Linked DNA regions of Homo sapiens: regions 1, 3 and 4 are each linked to region 2. Evidence: promoter capture Hi-C in 16 types of primary human blood cells and fetal thymus (Javierre and others, 2016). All regions are on one chromosome and are shown on one strand. Each heading gives the region's core, a stretch centred on a gene start or on the middle of the fragment in contact. The rest is flanking DNA. Distances are from core to core; before and after follow the strand shown.

The links. The method cuts DNA at HindIII sites, captures the fragments that hold promoters and counts their contacts. A CHiCAGO score of 5 or more calls a contact.
Region 1: a contact is called between a fragment that was not itself captured here and the fragment with the promoter of JHY in region 2, in 1 of 17 cell types (M2 macrophages). The highest score is 5.4, in M2 macrophages.
Region 3: a fragment that was not itself captured here is called in contact with the fragment with the promoter of JHY in region 2 in 1 of 17 cell types (total CD8 T cells); the score reaches 5.8 in total CD8 T cells.
Region 4: a fragment that was not itself captured here is called in contact with the fragment with the promoter of JHY in region 2 in 2 of 17 cell types (total CD8 T cells and naive CD8 T cells); the score reaches 7.5 in total CD8 T cells.

The regions. Positions count from the first base shown.
Region 1 is chr11:123,001,645-123,005,248 of GRCh38, forward strand. No RefSeq gene overlaps it. Among named protein-coding and RNA genes, the nearest start is that of BSX, 22 kb to the left of the region's middle. The HindIII fragment of the contact is 3,454 bases long and covers 271-3,604 here.
Region 2 is chr11:122,880,647-122,884,185 of GRCh38, forward strand. JHY (junctional cadherin complex regulator) reads left to right here and starts at 2,113. Exons shown (of 9, transcript NM_024806.4): 1 at 2,113-2,326. RefSeq lists a silencer at 2,232-2,591. The HindIII fragment of the contact is 12,251 bases long and covers 1-3,192 here.
Region 3 is chr11:122,812,575-122,816,069 of GRCh38, forward strand. It overlaps UBASH3B (ubiquitin associated and SH3 domain containing B), which reads left to right. Exons shown (of 14, transcript NM_032873.5): 14 at 1-1,899. Among named protein-coding and RNA genes, the nearest start is that of CRTAM, 24 kb to the right of the region's middle. RefSeq lists enhancers at 18-626, 627-1,234. The HindIII fragment of the contact is 157 bases long and covers 2,155-2,311 here.
Region 4 is chr11:122,788,626-122,791,746 of GRCh38, forward strand. It overlaps UBASH3B (ubiquitin associated and SH3 domain containing B), which reads left to right. Exons shown (of 14, transcript NM_032873.5): 6 at 475-683. Among named protein-coding and RNA genes, the nearest start is that of CRTAM, 48 kb to the right of the region's middle. The HindIII fragment of the contact is 4,369 bases long and covers 1-3,121 here.

The sequences.
Region 1 (3,604 bases), core at 748-3,247, 120 kb after region 2:
GATATGGTTTGGATCCATGTCCCTGCCCAAATCTCATGTCAAACTATAATCCCTAATGTTGGAGGTGGGTCCCAGTGGGAGGTGATTGGTACATGGGGGTAGATTTCTCATGGATGGTTTAGCACTATCCCCCTTGGTACTGTCATTGCAATAGTGAGTTCTCCTGAGATCTGGTCACTTAAAAGTGTGGCACCTCCTCCCCCAGCAACCTTGCTCCTGCTCCTGCCATGTGAAATACCTGCTCGCCCTTTGCCTTCCGCCATGATTGGAAGCTTCCTGAGGCCTCCTTAGAAGCGGAAGCTGCTATGCCTCCTGTACAGCCTGCAGAACCATAAGCCATTAAACCTCATTTCTTCATAAATTACCCAGTCTCAGGTATTTCTTTACAGCAATGCGAGAACAGACTAACAGAGAGTGCATCCCTTCAAGTGCCAAACAGAAAGATGTTGGCATTAGCCACTGTTTTTATTATCACTTAGTTGCCCTCCTTCTTTGTAGTAGAATAGTGATTGAGGTAGAATTCCCTCATGAATGAAGAAAATTGAATGCATTATCAAGGTCAGATTTGCGAATGTACCACAGCCAGCCACAGGAGGTGAGTTGGGAAGGTCATGATTAAAAGCAGGCATTTAGATGGAAGAGCCAGTCTGTACAGCTCTGGACAAAGGAAGTGGAGGCACCGGCAGTGATGCAAACACACCCCTGCCCGGAGGCCAAGGGAGACACATGATGTCTTTTAAGGGTCCCAGCCAGCCAGAATTCCCTTTCTGTAAAACAAAACTAATTCACCATATTCAGACAGAGTAGAGAAGGCTGTTAAAGTAGGACAAGGATCCTGTCTTCTCATTTTCACATTCAGGATCTTGGTGGCCGGGAGAGCTAACAGGACAGTCTTCTAGCCTTGACCTTCAACTCCTACCAGAGCTCCGGCTGCTCCCACCTTGCTCTTACCTTTTTTTTTTTTTTTGAGACGGAGTCTCGCTCTGTTGCCCAGGCTGGAGTGCAGGGGCGTGATCTCAGCTTGCCGCAAACTCCGACTCCCGGGATCAAGTGATTCTCCTGCTTCAGCCTCCTGAGTAGCTGGGATTACAGGTGCCCGCCACCATGCATGGCTAATTTTTGTATTTTTAGTAGAGTCAGGGTTTTACCATGTTGGCCAGCTGGTCTCAAACTCCTGACCTCAAGTGATTCGCCTGCCTCGGCCTCCCAAAGTGCTGGGATTAGAGGCATGAGCCACCATACCTGACCACTCTTACCTCTTTCTTGAGCTCTTTCTCTGGTATAATCTCTCAGTGTTTGAACATTTTATTTCCATTTCTAAGCCTGCTGGGCAGCTCAGGAAGGAAGAGTTATTAGCCATGCAAACTTGTTGCCCTGAACTCCCAGGGGCACATACTTTGGGCAAAATGGGAAGGGTGATTTTGAAGAGTTGGAACTCAAATAATCTAGGGGGAAATCCAAGCAAGGTTGCTCTTGTGGGGCCATGGAGAATATACTTCTGGCCTTTACTACTCTGAACAGGCATTACTCTGAGTTGTCCAATGAGCAGATCCATGGATAGAGGCAGAAGAGCTGGGTTTTGGTCCTCAAGCCATTGCTGCCTTCCCAGGTGACCTCCTGCAGCTCAGTTTCCCTCTGTGTGGAATGAACTTAGCCTCCCAGGCCTGCTAATGAGCTGCAATGATTGCCAGATCAAAGGGTGTTTGGGAACATTTCCAGCCTTACCAGTGAGGTGGAGAAAAAGCAGGCAAAGCAAGGTGATTTAGAAAATGCCACTTTACCTGTTGAACCAAAGAGCCAGAAGTGGAACTCACAGAAATACAACTGAGATTACCCCGAGGTGCACAGTAAATAGTACAATTCATTTCTCACCTAGGCCACCAACTCTTGTCCCTAGGAGAATCCAGATTGCATCCAAATTTTGTTCTGATTTCCTTCCATCTGTGATAACTTCGTTGTTCTGAAATACAACGATGGTTTTTCATATCATTGGTCGTGGTTGTAGCCCGTGCGAGAATAATGATGTATGCTTTCCCTGGAAATCAGCTAGATCCAGAGTTCCCAAATGGTGGTCTATGGACCAATGCTGACACATGACAAGGTTTTTATTAATTAAATGAGAACAATAAGGACACTGTAAAGAATCTCTCGAGTTTAATTTATTTCATTTAAAGGGCTTTTCTTCTGAGATGATAGTGTTGGAATGTAAGCTCCAAGAGGGTAAGGACTTTGATGATATTCTTGTTCTCTGTTTTCCAATACCCAGAAGAATACCTGTATGTAAGAGGCACTCAATCAATATTTGTTGAATGAATGAAGGAAAAATTATTTCCTTTCTATTTTCCTGGATTAAAATATCCTTTTTTTAATGAAATGGTATTGAAAGTAAATGGTAGGAGGTTTTGAAAACTTTTTTTCTATGGAAAAATAAAAGTATATAATTATTTTTAAAAGGTTATTGATCTTTAATGTCTAAGTTTGAGAATTTCTAGACCAGATGATCCATTAAGGACCATTTCATCTTATGATCCATCAGACATAGGGTGGGAACACGTTCAAAGCCCTTTAGTTAAATCATAGCAGGCCACACGCAGTCCCAGCACTTTGGGAAGCTGAGGCAGACAGATCACTTGAGGTCAGGAGTTCGAGACCAGCCTGGCCAACATGATGAAACCCTGTTTCTACTGAAAATACAAAAACTAGCCAGGCGTGGTGGTGCGCACCTGTAGTTCCAGCTACTGGGGAGGCTGAGGCAGGAGAATCACTTGAACCCAGGAGGCAGAGGTGGCAGTGAGCTGACATCTAGCCACTGTACTCAGCCCAGGTGACACAGCAAGACTGTCTCAAAAGAAAAGAAAAGAAAAAAAAATCATGGCAGAAATGTTTCCCCTCTGAAGTCTTAGAAGCAGAGAGCTGAGTTAAGATACTGGAAAACACATATTAGCCATGTAACCTCTGGCAAGTCATGAAAGCCTAGTTTTCTTCTGTAAGATGGGAATAATGCTGCCTCAAAGGATTATGGTGGCTTCAAACGAGAGAGCAATGTGTGAAAGCACGTGGGGCCTGGTTGTTTATTTTTAAAGTCTGAAATTAATAAAATTTAAGGTTTCCACAAAAAAACCCTGAAACCTACACTACTATTTGAAATTACTCGAGACAACTTGATTATGTAGAAATATTGTATTCTTTTTTCTTTCTCAACTTTTCTTTTAATCTTTGGATTCTTTTTGATAGCTGTTAGTAACCTCCAAGAGTGGAGATAGAAAAGGAATGAACTTCTCCACAACTTCTTGTCCAGTTGTCTATTTACAGAGAAAGAGGCGCAGCCTAAAGTCAGCCACACACACAAACATTAGCAATTAGTTCTGTGAGCTCAGTGAAGTTGAAGCTGTGTCCTTTCCCATGGTTTCTAAACCTTGGCACTCTTGACATTTTGGAATGGGCCATTTTTGTTGTTGTTGTGGGGGCTGTCTTGTGCATTGTGGGATGTTTAGCAGTATCTCTGGCTTCTACCCACTACATACTCACACACATACATGCTTATAATTGTGACAACCAAAAATGTTTCCAGACCACTGCAAATGCCCCCCAGGAAGGGTTGGTG
Region 2 (3,539 bases), core at 863-3,362:
AACCACAGCATCAAAAGTAGACAAGTGTGAATGACTCAGCATTGATTCTATAACATATTCTGGAAGCCACTATTAGGACTAAATCCTTTTGCTTGAAATTTGCTTGCATGTTTGCAGTTGCTATAATAATACCTTGTATAATATACTGGGCAGAATAACACTAATGGTTTCAGCTACGTTGCTTTTATTTCTTCTACAGACATTGAGGTCCTACTGTGTACTCATAAGACAAGGTCCCTGCTGCCAAAAAAGTAAAAAAAAAAAAAAAAAAAAAAAAACTAACTCAAATAAAAAACAGAATAAAAAGTGCTAAAGCTGGGTAGTAAAGACATTTTCCAATTTCCTGTGTTTCCTATCATTAATGAGGCAACTGGTATTGAAGCATTCTTTTTTTATTTTATTTTATTTTTTTGAGATGGAGTCTCGCTCTGTCACCCAGGCTGGATTGCAGTGGCACATCTCAGCTCACTGCAACCTCTGCCTCCCCGGTTCAAGCAGTTCTCCTGCCTCAGCCTCCCATGTAGCTGGGACTACAGGCGTGCACCACCACGCCCAGCTGATTTTTGTATTTTTAGTAGAGACGGGGTTTTGCCATGTTGGCCAGGCTGGTCTTGAACTCCTGACCTCAGGTGATCCACTCGCCTAGGCCTCCGAAAGTGCTGGGATTACAGGCATGAGCCACTGTGCCTGGCCGAAGAATTCTCTTTTTTTTTTTTTTTTTTTTTTGACAAGGTCTCACTCTCACCCAGGCTGGAGTGCAGTGGCACAATATTGGCTGACTTCAGCCTCAACCTCCTGGGCTCAGGTGATCCTCCCACCTCAGCCTTCCAAGTAGCTCGGACTATAGGCACGCGCCACTACGCTCAACTAATTGTTAAAAATTTTCGTAGAGACAAGGTTTTGCCATTTTCCCCAGGCTGGTCTTGAACTCTTGGGCTCAAGCAATCCTCCAGCTCGGTTTCCCAAAATGCTGGGATTACAGGGTGAGCCACTGCACCTGGCCTCAAACCAATCTTTGAAGGTAGTTATTCAAATCTACTTGTTGTTTTAATGTGAAGATAATTCCTAATGCTTCCTTTCTTTATTCTTTTTTGAAACCTTTTTTGATAGTGAAATATTCTACCCATACATAAATGTACAGCTTAATGAATTTTTACAAGATGAACATCTATATAACCATCATTAAGGTCAGGAAATACAGTCTCAAAAACATTCTTCTCCCTACCTGCCAGAACCGACCACAATCCTAACTTGATGGGAATCACTAAGTGGGTAGTGTTTCCCATAAAATTGCTTTTTTGCTTTTTTTCATAGTTTCCTCCACTAAGTATGGAGCCACAATCACTGTAGAGTGTAATTTAGCCTGTTTTTTATATACAAAAATCATACAGTATGTACTTTTTCTGGGTTTTTGTTGTTGTTCAAAATTGTGTTTTTAGTATGCCTCCATATTGTTACACATAGTTGTATTTCATTCATTTACAGTGCTATGTAGTATGCCAGTATAGGCAATAGCATAATCTAATTAACCATTCTTTTGATGGATAGTTCAGTTATTTCCAGTTTGCATGCACAGGAGCACGCACTTCTTAGGGTAAATACCTAAAAGTGAAATTGCTGGATCCCAAGGCATACATATCCTGGCTAATGTCAAACCATTTTCCAAAATGGTTGGTTGCATCGGTTCTCACGTCCGCCCGCAGAAGGTGACGGTTCTTTGCACTACGTCCTCCCTAGCACCTGACGCTGCCAGACGTTTCAACTTTGGACTTTTCGACTCAACTTATGGTGAGTGTGGTATTATCCGCTGTGGTTTTAATTGGCCTTCTTCTGATTATTAATGAATTAAAGCATCATTTCAATAAACAGATATTTATTGGCCATTTAGATTTCTCGTGTGTTTGTGAAATACCTTTCCATTTACCCATTATTTAATTGGGTTCCTTTTCTTCTTGATTTGTAGCAGTTCCTCGCGTATTTTAGTAGTTTTATTTGTGGCAAAGATCTCCTCCCCCGGGTGGCCTCTGCCCTCCGGCGCTGGGAAGTCCGGGCGGCGAGGCAGCCTCTCCCGGGGCGTTCGGGCTCCTCCGGCTCTGCCCCGATGTCGTTATTACGGCCGTTTGCAGCCTCCGTGCCAGGGCCGGGGGTGCGGTTCGGGACGCGGGATCCTAGGTCGGGTCCTGCCCCGCCCATGTGGCGCCGGCGTCTGTGTTGTCTGCGGTCTCCAGGGCAGCGCCGGGGCGGGCGGGGGCCCGGGCGGCGGCGGCGGCGGCGCGGGAGGATGCGGGGCCCGTCCGGGTCGCGGCCGCGGAGGAGCGCCGGGCAGGTGACGGGCGGTGGCCTCCCGGATCTGGGGTGGGCGGCGCGCCCGGGGAGGGAAACGGGAAGGGCTTACTGGGGATGGGGACGGCAGGAAACCACCCAAGCAAGCTGGGGAGGAGCCGGCGCGGGAGCCTTCGGGACGGAGTGGGGAGCGACAAGGGGGCGAGGCCGCGACAAGGGGCTGGGGGGCCGCCATGCGAGGCTTCGGCGCCCGGGCACCCAGAGCAGCCCTGTTCCCGGTCAATTAGGACCGGTCCCGGGCACCAGGCCCGCCGACTTGTCACTTCCTGGACCTCCAAACGCCCCTTGTGACAGGCCTTGTTCCTCAGGAACAAGCAAAGGTAGAAAACCGAACGCCTCCCCTGGGCAGCTTCCGGCCTGTTTCAAACCAGGGTTCGTTCCTTTTTCTTTACGATTCATCTTGGTGAGCCCAAGCAGGGTTCCTTTTCCCCTCCAGGAGAAAGTTCGATTGTCCCATGCTAGTGGACTAGACCCACTGCAGGGATCCCTGGGGAGCTGGCCGCTTCTTAGTCCCTAGGTGCCATCGGATCTATCGCTGTCTTGTTTATTCAGGAGACTAGTCACCTCTCTTGGTCAGAAATTTCAGCGGCACAACCTTTTTTTTTTTTCACTGGACGGGAGGAGGGAGCCACATTCATGAAATTTAAACGCCCACTTTCTAACTTATTCAAGCTGTCAGCTGTTCCTTCTTCCACCCCATGTTTTGGTAAGATCAGGCCTCCACAGAAAACCCAGCTTTTGTGGCGTTTGGCTTTGCTCTTTGCATACTTTAGCAAACTTCAGGAATCTGCTAACATCAGCAAAATTATCTTCTGTGGTTACTGTTTTATTTTTTATTCATTCCAAGAAAGCTTAGCCTATTTCATTTAAGAAGAGAAGTTCAAGGGACTGAATTATTTTAAGAGTAATTCTAAGTTGCACTATAACGCTTAAGCTTGCTCTTCAGGATCTCAAATTCAGTGACCTTAGCTCCTCCAGTAAAACCGGTGTTAAACAATCTCTTTTACTTAAAATGTGTTAGTATTTGATAGATTTGCTGCTTTCTTGGCACATCCTAAAAAAGCAACAATTAAAATAATAAGGCAGAATGCAATATGTATTTTAAAAATAAGAGACAAAATAATACAACAAACCAGTCTGTAATATTAGAGAATAATATGTTAGTCTACCAACAGGGCAGACTTCGAGTTCAATAG
Region 3 (3,495 bases), core at 983-3,482, 68 kb before region 2:
CTTGTACAGAGGAATTTTGTTTTAATGTAGAAAGTTATTTGAAATAAACTAGGTGAAATGAAATTAACTAAAGGTTTTAATCTGGGATTGAAAGCCTGAAAGCATTTCCTGCTTCTACAAGTGTGCCACATCAATCCGGTAATGCCCCAGTGTTATTCACAGACAGAACTTTGTTTCCTGTGATTTTAAAATACCGCGTCTGTTCCTCCATGGACCAGAGTAATTGGCACATTTTAATGCATAAGCTGGGGGTTTCATTTTCCCAGGCTCTCTTCACCATCACTGCATTGGTAGCTAGGAGCTTATTGCTTCACCCCAGTATGGAGTTCAGATTACAGTGTTTTCCATTACATTTAGATTCATAGAATCTGAATGGCTGATTAAATGGCCATCTGATGGCTGAAAGAGGGGCGTATTTTTCACTCTGTAGTGAAAGGCTTGGAGGAGTTTCTACTTTTTATTTTAATTATACTTTAACCAAAGAATTATTTTAAAGTAACCTTATATTTAAAAGATGATTTTGCAAAAAATAAAAAATAAAAAATATGCCTTCTGGAGTGATGTCTGTTTGGTAAATCATTGTTGATAATTTCCTTGTTAGTGGTATTTGGAATGCATATAGATTGTCTTGTCATTGTGCTTAACATTACCATAAGTGTGTCTTTTCCACTCAACTAGCTGTATTCGTATTAAAATGAAGTCTCTTATTTCAATTACCTAGTGTTGTTGGGAACTAATTGAACAGCTACAGTAAAAGAAGTTCCTATCTCATTGCCTTTGTGGAAAGGCTTCCCTATGTGGTAAAAGAAAGGCATTCCTCCGTAACCTAGGCACTCTGCAAGTCCAGTGTTTAATTTCAAAGCAGTGATGAATTGCTCTTTTGAAATTACTCTAAGTAATCCATGTGTTAGAATACAGATGAACCTCCGTTTGATTTCACAGCCTTCAGCACAGGCAACTGTTACTGAGTCTGCACGAACTTAGATAATGAGGTGCAGGGTTATTTGCATTTAAATTGCAATCCAGCACACGTGTGAGAAAGAAGAGGCACTAGTCTAAAAGGCTGCATTGCGGGGAGAGATGAGACAGGCAGAGGAGGGTGGGGTAAAGAGCGATTTAACATCTATTTAGGTTAATGTTCACTTTACAAAGGTGATGGGGGATATTTTGTTAGGTGATAGCAGAAGCTTTTCATTTTTAAACATAGAATTAAAATTGGATTTGCTTCTCTTTAATACTTCAACATATTGAATTTCCCTAGGAAAGTGACTAGCTATAATGAAAATTCAAGCGAAAAGGGAAAAAGATTGTAAATGCAGATGAAATAACTTCATTTTTAAGTACAAATAATAGTAGGATTGGTGTATGTAGGTTTAAAATTATAGTGATGACTAGTCGAACTTAATATACAATCAGTTCTTGCAAATACTTTACACTTAGCTGCCATTACACAACAAATTGGAATTTTCCAGCTGTTCAACTATCATGGACTCTGTACAGGATAGATGTGTATAATGGAAAATATGTACTGCTTCTTTCTTTGATTGCCACTCAAGATGGAAACACCATGCCAAGGCATTTTGGTTATACACAGATCATTCTAAACCTGTTATTTTGGAGAGGTGTATTGGTTTCTTTCTCATTTATAAGGCTATTGTATTTTTTTTTGTATGTGATTCAGGTGTATTTATTTGAAGACTATTTGTAGTTATAGGAAAACCACACCTACCTGTATTGCCAAATTCTTTGTAAACTCTCCGTGGCACTTGTGCTTTCCTGGCTGAGAGCTCTCCCCTGTTGATACAGCTATGGCACCATTGTAATTACAGATGCACCTTTCAGGAGCATCTCCATTAAATGGTTCATAGATGATTTAATAAAAAGAAACTTCTCAGTTGATCCAGAGCAATGTCATTTTAAATTCTGAGTGGTCTCTTCCTATCATGTTTTCAGATGTTACTTTGTTCATTATTATTTCATAAATGTGCATTCAGAGTGTGATTCTGTTTTCAAAAGGCCAGAGGGCGCTTTCTGCTGATGGAAGGGGAGGATGCTCCAGCAGCACTGTGTGTCTCTGGACCCTTCTGACCAGGCATCAAGCCTCCATGCCATTCAGACTGGGGAGCTGAACACCCACTCTGTGTGAAAATAGCAAGCTTCAAAATGCTTCCCCTGCCCTATGTGCAAACTAGGAGACAAAAAATATATTTCCTTCTACCTATCCTAGGTTCATGGCTGAGGCCCCTATAACAAAACATAGATTAACAAAAGAAAAAGCATACAAGTTTTTCATGTCTTGGGGCCAAGGGAAAGCTTTCCCTCTGCCCTCTAAAGGTTCACTGAAAATGACTGACAAGAGGCAGATTAATAGAAAAAGCATAAATAAATTTATTAACTACGTGAGCTTGTAGAGTATCACAGAGTGAGTGCCCAGTCTCCCAACGGGGTACAGATGCTTATATGCCCTACATCTTAGGGGAAAGAGAATGGGGAGGTGTGGGTGATTTTAGGCAGATAGTAAATGATTTTTAAGGAAATTCAATGGACTTGAAGAACATACAATGGTCTGGGACAAAGTCGGTCAGGCCTACAGAGTGGACAGTCATTTGGGACAAAAGTCTGTCCAGGTTTGTTGTCAGACTTTAGTCTTCCATCCTGTGATGTGAGTTCAGTCAATGGAAACTCCGAGAAGGGACCAGAAGTAATTGTTTCCTTCTTTGGTAGATATGAGAATAACCTCATCCTGTGCTTTGGGACAGGTAGAGGACTGAGAGGGGATAGAGGAAGGAAAAGCAATTGTTCTCCTTGGTGGGCCTGTCCAGTCTTTATGTAGATAGGGGAAAGGCTTCTTTTAGCATCTGTTGATCTCTAAGGGCCTTTAATTCAAAATACTCAGCTGGGTGTGGTGGCTCACACCTGTAATCCCAGTATTCTTGGAGATCAGAGCCGGAGAATTGCTTGAGCCTAGGAGTTTGAGACCAGCCTAGGCAACATAGCAAGACCCTGTCACTACAAAAAAATACAAAAATTAGCCAGGTGTGGTGGTGTGCACTTGTGGTCCCAGCTGGTCAGGAGGCTGAGGTGGGAGGATCGCTTGAGCCCAGAATGTCTAGCTGACAGTGAGCCATGACAGTACTCCAGCCTGGGCAACAAAGCGAGACTCAAACAAACAAAAACCCAAAATACTCATTATACCAGGGAGCCATATTTGGGGGTGAAGCTCCCTGTTTTCCTTCACATGACACAAAAGCCTTCATAAGGAAATGAAGATTTGAAGAAAACTAGTTAAACCTGAATATTTCAATGCAAAATTTGATGAAGAATAGATAGTCATGGAGAAACGTGATAGAACTAAGAGTATGATCTAATGGTAATAAACTGGGAGGACTTAATGAGGCCTGTGTGTTCAGATTCCCCTGGGTGTCCCTCTGTCTTCAGAGATGAGGGTGCTCATTTTCTCCCGCTCTAGGGAAGGCACCTTTCACATGAAGTTCT
Region 4 (3,121 bases), core at 206-2,705, 93 kb before region 2:
ACTTCATTCCCTGAGCCTTCCTGGAGGAGAGACACTCCACCTGGCCCCTCTGTAACCCCCGTATGGAAGACTGGCTTTCCATGAGCTGGGTTTCAGGTGTCTATCATGGTGACTATCAGATGAAGCAAGGGAAGCTAGGTCCATGTCCATTTATACAGCAGTTGGCCAGAGAGCCTACAGGATTTCAGGTCAATTTCCAAAAACGATACTTGAATCCTGATGGGAAATCTAGACATGCCTGAAGAAAAGTATGAAACCATTTCTAGCACCAGGCATACACCGTCAATACCCTGAAGAGAGAAGTGCTCTCTGATAGGAATTCACATCTACTCAGGGCCTGCAGACCCCAAGGGCTCCTGGGCACATCGCCCTCTGGAGGTGTGCAGTATTAATGCAGAACATACAGTCCTGCCCTCAAGGCGCTCAGGAGAATGGTGAGGCATGGGGCTCACTCACCCTCTCTTCCTTTTCCAGACATTACAGGTCATCTACCCCTATACCCCACAAAATGACGATGAGCTGGAGCTGGTCCCCGGGGACTTCATCTTCATGTCTCCAATGGAGCAGACCAGCACCAGCGAGGGTTGGATCTATGGCACGTCCTTAACCACCGGCTGCTCTGGACTCCTGCCTGAGAATTACATTACCAAGGCTGATGAATGCAGCACCTGGATATTTCATGGGTAAGCAGACACAAAGACCTTTATGCCATTTGAAGAATGTTGCTAAGGCAGACTGGATCCTGGATACACAGGGCAGCAGTAAATGGAGTCCATGGGAAGAAGGCCCTGTGGATTCCAGAATTCCAGGAAAGGAGCTGATTTGAGGCATGGGGAAAATGCGAAATGGATTGCTCTGCTTCCCTCTGCCTGCCCCATTTGCCATGGTTGTCTGCTTCAGTTCCTGATCAGAGACTAAACTGAGGTGGCTTGGGGTCCATCTCTTCTGGCCGAAGAGTGGCATCATCCCAGTGCTGCGTCTTCACTGCTTTAGGGCTTCTGTCCACCTTATCCTGGGTCATGAGTCAGGGTGGTCTGATTTCCCGAAGCAGCTGGGCGGATTACTACCCTGCCATCCAGACCAATAGAGAAGGGGGTTTCAAGAGGCAGGAGCCCTAACTGTATCCTTGATTTGCTAAGTGACCCTGAGCAAGTCCCCAGACACAGCCTATGCATGCCTAGACAACAAAGACCATGTCTAAGGGAACAGGCAACTGCCAGACTGAAAAGGGGTCCATTTCCCCCCTCCCCTCTGCCAGTCTTCTTTAGGGTAATAACTTTCCACCCGTCCCTCATTACTATTTTGCCCCCATTCCATACTGGTACCACATTCAGTGGCCAACTTTGTCCCAATAGATAAAATAGAAACAAAAGCCATCTTCTCTTTCTTAGTTGGAGCAGCTCAAAGCCAGCGCTTCCCTGGCACACTGGGGCATCTAGCCAGGGTCTGCATGCTGGTTTGTTTTTCTCCCACTTGTTTTTGTCATGTGGCAACATGGCTGAGAGGCAGAAGCCCTGAGCGCCAGCTGCTTGGTGGCTAATATTGTTATTATTGCCATAAAGGAGAAGCAGAGAGAGATGATTTCATCAAGTCTTTTGCCTGGAAGGAGAAAATAAAGGTCCCCTACCCTAGTGAGCCACAAACAGACAAACCACAAATCCAAAGATGGGAAAGAATATTTTCTTCCTCAATAACCCCACCCAGCAATCCCTCCCCCTCTCCCTCACTCTGCTCCCACCTCAGCCCAGCCCATGAGCCTCCAGAATTGGATGGCACAAAATTAGAGGTCAAAGCTGTCTTATGTTCCCCAAACATTTTGCTTTTTCAGAAATGCTTTGGAAGATCAAAATATATAAGCTGGGTTTCCAAAGTCTCCATTTTAATCCCTACAACAACAAGTAAAGCAAAATATGCGTGAATAAACTGAGAACTAAAACATTATTTGCCTGACAAAGCACAGTTCTCAGATCTGTTATTTTTTATTTTACAGTACTTGGAGTTGCTGTTTTATCAGATCTCTTTCTTAAAAGTGGGTGTATGGCCAGGTGCGGTGGCTCACACCTGTAATCCCAGCACTTTGGGAGGCCAGGGTGGGTGGATCACTTGAGGTCAGGAGTTCAAGACCTGCCAAACCAACATGGTGAAACCGCGTCTCTACCAAAAATAAAAAAAAAAATCAGCTGGGCGTGGTGGCATACACCTGTAGTCCCAGCTACTCAGGAGGCTGAGGCAGGAGAATCACTTGAACCTAGGAGGTGGAGGTTGCAGTGAGCTGAGATCACGCAACTGCACTCCAGCCTGGGCAACAGAGCAAGACTTTGTCTGAAAAAAAAAAAAAAGTGGAGGTATATGAGAAGCAGTGCTGATCTCTTAGAGTTCACTCCATCCAAACCCACTCTTCCCTAAATTACAACTCAGGCCGATGTATAGGTGAACCTGAGTGACTTCGGTCAGTGCGTCCCAGGGAGGTCTTTGTGTCATCTTTTATTCGAGAGATTACTAATGATGTCATGTCTCTGAGAACAATGTCTGAAATTAAACTAACAGCTTCCACAGCCAACCCTGCTCAAAGTAGGTAAATAAGTTAGGCATTAGTTTATTGTGATTAAGAATTTGAGACTGGATTCCAATAGTCTTGGATTTAAACGATAACTCTCCCACTTACCAGCTGTGTGGCCTTGGCAAAGTTGCATTACCTCTCTGAGCCTCTGTTTGCTCATCTAGAAAATGGAACTAATAATTGCACTTACCTCATAAGGTTGTTGGGAAGACTGCAATACAGAGCTTAGCTTTACATGGTTCAGAGTCTGGTGTATAGCGGTGACTATAAAATCGCCATTTGCATAATGATGATTATTCTCTTTTTTCTATCTTGTGTTTGCCAGTCCTCACTTAGTGCTCATCAAAGGAAATGTGTCTTCCATAAAAGCAATCCTGTAGATGAACTGCACTTTCCTATTTAACCCCAGAGGTCAAATGACTCAAGGAGGCAGAGCCCAGCTTCCTTGTAAGACAGACACAGACCTTCTCTCTCTCCTAACCCAAGAGAGACATCAGGAGGTAGAGCCCCAGGGGGATGTCAAGCATGGCCTGGCTGGCATGGTGGGAGTTGCCCAGGGGA